2 separate regions of the Homo sapiens genome follow, and region 1 is linked to region 2. The links are contacts of gene promoters, found by promoter capture Hi-C in human tissues and cell types (Jung and others, 2019). All regions are on one chromosome and are shown on one strand. The core of a region is centred on a gene start or on the middle of the fragment in contact, and the rest is flanking DNA. Distances in the headings are between cores, read along the strand shown. Region 1 overlaps ELAVL2 (ELAV like RNA binding protein 2). Region 2 holds the start of ELAVL2 (ELAV like RNA binding protein 2).

Region 1 (2,700 bases), core at 178-2,677, 76 kb after region 2:
AGGGAAAATGTGTATGGCGTACAAGTCCTGTATCCACCACCCCCAACTCCCATCCTCTAGCTCAACAAAAATTTGCATTTCTTGGTGAGGGATGATAGACTTGAATGTTTATTACCTTGTAGAGTAGATCTGATGGGGCCCTTGACTCTTTACAACCTGTTTGACCTTTGGACTTAATACTGAGAAAGTCAAATCCTCCTTTTAAAGTAAAGTTTAAGGGAGGCATAGCTGTGTGTAAACTGGTAAATCAGAATCACTGCACTGTTTTTAAGGTCACTGGAGCCTGAGAGAACAGTTTTATTTCCTCACATTTTAATGCTTTAAATCCAGTCTTAAGGAGTTGCCTCCAAGGGTACTGTCGTACGAATCCTTTTTCCTAACCCTGGTACTAAGTAAGCCATGGGAGCTTTTTTCATTCCATTTAAATGAATTGTAGTTTGCTCTTATTCTACTTTAAATGTATCTAAACATTTTGAATATAAATGAGAGACTGATGGTGTATCAAATCAATTGACATCTTCTCATGTAGACAAGGGCTCTCCTAAATGACTTCCCAAATCCTGCCTCTAAAATTGTCTTTTTTTTCTTTTGTGAACCTGAGTATTAGGTTAGCTCTTTTTAAACATGGTGCCAAGTGATTTTGCCATTATATGGTGCAGACAGTGTACTACCTTCTCAAGTAGAATGATTTGGGATCTAATATCTTAAAATCTAACAATGTTATACCAGGTTTGTTTTTAGACCTTTATATTCTTTATTATTTGTTGTCCTTTTTTTATGGGGGTAAGCCCTTTTATACATATTGGAATAGGATTAAAATACAGAATTGTTAATACCGATTTGTTACTGTGTTTTATATCAATATGTGTATTTTTTTAAGTGCTGGAAATTGGGAGCCTTTGCAAAAAGGCGTGATAACATTCCATTATATCCCCAGCTCTAGAACATACAAAGCTAGTCCTGATGTGCTACTTAAAAGTAGAATATGGAATCTTCTGGGGTTAGTTTCTTACTCTATTTGATATTTTAGTTCTCTGAATGCTTATAGAAAACAATATATTTGGATATAGCCATCAAAGTAAGGAGGATGTCTAATATTCTTTCCTAGCCTTTATAGTTGGACAACCGACTTTTAAAGAGTCTTTTTTTTTTTTTTCCTTTTTTAAGACAGTACCCTTGGAGGCCACTGTGTTCATGACCAGTGACTCCTTGAGACTGGGTTTATTAAATGGACCTGTTAGTATAGTGAATAACAGCTCTTAGGTAATTTTGCGTAGTTGTTAGTAGGCACCAAAGGAGGAAGGGTGAGCGTTAGTTGCTCTATAGATTATAATGAAAGAAGGTCTCAGGCCAGATCCCACCACACATAGAAACCTCTATCTAGCAAGCAGGACCAAATTGATGGAGAAGCCTTTTCTGAAAGCTTGGTAAAGTCCCACTTCTCTCTTCTTTTTTAAGTGCTTTGAACACACTTTAAATGAAATGTTCACCGGAGGCTAACAATATCCCAAAAGTCACGTTCTGCACCCTCACTTTGCATCATGCAAAAAGAAATCCCTTTAAACAAAGACTGAAACCCAGGACCATTTAACATTTAGGGGTTCTCTCCATAAAGATATAACCACCTTGGATTATGCCACCTTGGATTTTGTGCCCTGTTTATACGAAGGTGGGAAGTGTCTCTAAACTAATTTAGCCCATCTGCGTATCTTGAACTCCTTTAATTTTACCGGTAAGACTCCATTTCTAACACTCGTTATGCTAATTAACAAATAACTGGCTTACAGAACAAAACCCTATTTTGACATCCATTAGGTGAATCAGCAGAGAATTGGTTGTTGATTTAGGTATGGATAGTATGTAGGCTTACACTAGTCACTTGAATTTTAGCCTACTTGTATTATACTAGTTAACTAATCCTGGATTGTGCATTAATGATAGTATGTTAGATGACCACCCAGAATTAAAGCTTAAATGGCTGGTGCACACGTGTCATCAGATTAATTCTAAACTTTAAAAAGAAATGTTTTTATTGTGGCAAAATATAACATAAAATTTATCATTTGAACCTTTTCAAGTTTACAGTTCAGTGACATTAAGCACATTCACAGTATTATGCAGCCGTCACCCTTATCCATTTCCAGTACCTTGTCATCATCCCAGATAGAAACTCTGTAACCATCAAACAGTAACTCCTCACCCACCTCCTTTGCTCCCAGCCTTTGGTAACCATTATATTTTCTGTGTCTCTATGAATTTGCCTATTCTCGGTACCCCATATAAATGAAATCATACAACATTTGATATACCAAAGTATTTTGAAAGTAAATTATGATAATTGTTTTCAGGAGATACTAGTTTTTTTCCCCTTGGGCTGTAGACTCTTCTGTATGTTTTATTTCTCTTCCTCTCCAAGTGGCTTTAGGGACCAACCCCTCCCCCTGAAATAAGTAGCCTGGCTTCAAATTTAGTTCATGCCACATTCCCCGTAAAAGAAACGTCCAATTAAAATACTGAATTTGTGCAATATTTTGCCAGATTGCTGACTACTTGCAGGGACTTCATCTTACCCCCTTTGCAGTTGTTCTGCCTGGTTTCAAGCTTGTTTTATTCTTTTGAAAATTGCCTTCAATCTCTTATCACTCCCCATCTTGGCAAGTTACCTGGAGGAAGAGGCAGTTGGTGTATGTACAGTGGGTC
Region 2 (2,700 bases), core at 168-2,667:
CCGGCATTCTCAAAGATAGCGACTAGTTGTAAATATGTAAAGGAATCCCTTTCAAAAAGGCATGTGCCTCTGGTTAAGACACATTACATGTGTAATGTAATGTGTACATTACATTTACACATTCTGGTAAGAATGGTAAAAACTGTCTAGGAAGTTGGTGCTATCTTTCAAGATTGAAAAGAGAAATGCTGGCTGGAAAAGAACGTAGGTCAAATGAATATTGTGTCTACTTATACATCCAGACGATCCTGAGGACCTCACTTTCACTTAGAGGAAGAAACAATTATCATGCATAAAACTGTATTTTGGTCTCCTGAATGCTGTTAAAATATGGGGTTGTAATAAAGTAGTCTTCCTCTATGAAGCAGAAGCATTGATAGCACTTGGTCTTCTGGTTAAACTTCTTAAATCCTCACAGAAAGAGCCCTGATAAAGGTTCAACTATCTTTGCTGTCAGCAATACATGTGTGGTCCAAGGACTGTACCTGTCTGCAAATGCAGAGGAGTGGCTTGTTCCAGTTTTATATACAGCTGCTCTTTTTGAGAATCATTAGACACCTCGAAGTGAAGGACCTTAGCTCTACTCAATACCTCTTTTTCTGGATAGGATATTTATCCTACACTTTTCTATTCTAACATGAAGTGAAAGCCAATTCAAACCGTGCAGCTTTATTTGAGAGCATTTCTGACTTCATCTTTATCTTAAAAGGATGCTTTAAAAAGGGGTTCATGGGGACACATAAATCTGAAATATGCGTATATTAAAATAAAGACATACAATTACCTAACATCTAATACAAAATACAGTACTGAACACAAATCGAAAAAAGGCATGCGGGCAAATAATGGATGTACATTCATCCCTTTCACTCAGATCAAAGAGAGGGAGCTCTCAATGACTCATACATACCGGACAGAGTTAAATGTTATAAAGAAATATGCCACAGATGCAGCAGTGATGGCAAAGGAAATGAATCTTTCTGAAGCAGAAAGATTTAAGAGGAAAGGAGATCGTGCCATATCGCAAACTCTGATAGTACAGTTCCAACCCTCCCACGTTGCTCTCTCCACATTTCTTTTTGCTTCTTGCATTTCCCTTCGCCGCCAGTGTTAAGAGTGTACCTCCCCGCACAACTTACCTTGAAACGGGACTCCATTGAGCTCTCGAGAGTGACACAAGCCCATAGCCAATCGTCTCACGCGGCCCCGCCTGGGCGGCCTCAATGGAAGCGTGTGGACCAATCAGGATCCTGGGGCGATGAGCAAGTTACGTTGTGGCGCGATTCGGCGTATACTTCCGCGCGTGCTGCCCGGGATAGGAGCCTGGCAGAGCAGCTGCACACACGGCAGTGCGGAGGCAGAGAAGGGGTTGGTGATACGGTGCTATAAATCTGTGGTCCAGTCCACCTCCCTTTTAAGACGTCCTCCCCCCTATTTCTGTTCTTAGTTAGAGATGCAGCAGCTTACTCCTGTAGCGACCTACTAAAAAGCAACAAGGAGAAAGACATCGTCTTTTTGAAAAAACGTTCTTTCGTCTCTTTTCTTTGTTCCTTGGTTTGTTTTTCTTGCCCCTTTTTGTTTAGTTGAACGGCAATAGGAGGGTAGTCTCTCCGTCTTTTTAAACTCTTTTTTAAGTTTCCCCTCCCCTTTCATATTTTTTTTCGCCATTTCTTTTAGCATTGGACTTTGGGGTCGAAAGCGTTTCTTTTTATTTGCTTCTTTTAAGCCGAGCACAGTTTAGGTTTCGTGCTGTCTTAAGAGAACTATCCAGCAGCTTCTTGCTCATCCTTATTGGGAGAACTGCACCGTTACTTTAAAAACACACATACACAAAAACCTTAAGGGAGAAAGGTAAGTTTCGGTTTGGTTTCTTTAATCATTAGTTGCAGCGATGCGCTGGCAAACCCAGAAAACCTGTAAGTGAGCGGAATACAGAATATGAAGTTAATTGCACATGTTTGTCTCATTTCAAAGCTACTGTTCTGCTTTTTTAATTTTAAAGAGCTAGACTAAAAGACGGTGGACGCATGCTTAGCGTACTGAATATTCGTAAATGTCCATGGCAGAAACTTAAGTGGTAAATGTGGCCAGGGGGGAGTAGGGGTACAATGGGAGGTTAGATGTGGAGTGAGCTTCAAGATTGAGATCGGAAGTTCATTTCGTGGGGAGAGAGTGATAACTTGGGTGTTGGGGATGCATGCCTCTACTTTGGCTCAGCAACGGAAGGACGGGAGAGGCTTTACAATCATTAAGGGGAATCAGAAGCCTGGACTGGCAGATTAGACCAGCGAAAACCACAGGCTTAATTGCATTAACCAGATAGCATGTGCTGGGGAGATGGGATTGCCAGATGGAATTTAGATGCTGCACCAGGCAGCGAGTTGTAGTTGACTGAAAAAAGTACATGCCGCCTGAGGGCTGGGGCTGGGGCTGGGCTGAGGCTAGGGTTGTTAGAAGCTGTCAGAACTCATCATTGTATGCGGGCTCTGATTCACGGACTCCAATTATCATAATTCAGTTTTAAAAGAAGATAGCCAATTTGGGGCTGAATTCTTAAGCCTGTACCGGATATGAGATTCCCTTTGTTCAGAAAAGCGTAAATAAGATCCTTGGAGCTGTGTCTATGAAGTGCCGGCTGCTTGGGAGCCTCGCTGTGCTGGGCGCTGGGAAGTGGATTCCAAGCCCTGTCCTTGGTCCTAC

Evidence for each region. Contacts are between HindIII fragments. The study calls those that stand out against the background at their distance.
Region 1: a contact is called between a fragment that was not itself captured here and the fragment with the promoter of ELAVL2 in region 2, in 3 of the 25 tissues and cell types used here (dorsolateral prefrontal cortex, heart left ventricle and mesendoderm cells).

The regions. Positions count from the first base shown.
Region 1 is chr9:23,748,488-23,751,187 of GRCh38, reverse strand. The region is part of intron 2 of ELAVL2 (ELAV like RNA binding protein 2); the gene reads left to right. Among named protein-coding and RNA genes, the nearest start is that of ELAVL2, 76 kb to the left of the region's middle. The HindIII fragment of the contact is 5,669 bases long and covers 1-2,700 here.
Region 2 is chr9:23,824,957-23,827,656 of GRCh38, reverse strand. ELAVL2 (ELAV like RNA binding protein 2) reads left to right here and starts at 1,417. Exons shown (of 7, transcript NM_004432.5): 1 at 1,417-1,851. LOC105375992 (a long non-coding RNA gene) reads right to left here and starts at 1,229. Exons shown (of 3, transcript XR_929519.3): 1 at 1,140-1,229. The HindIII fragment of the contact is 12,029 bases long and covers 1-2,700 here.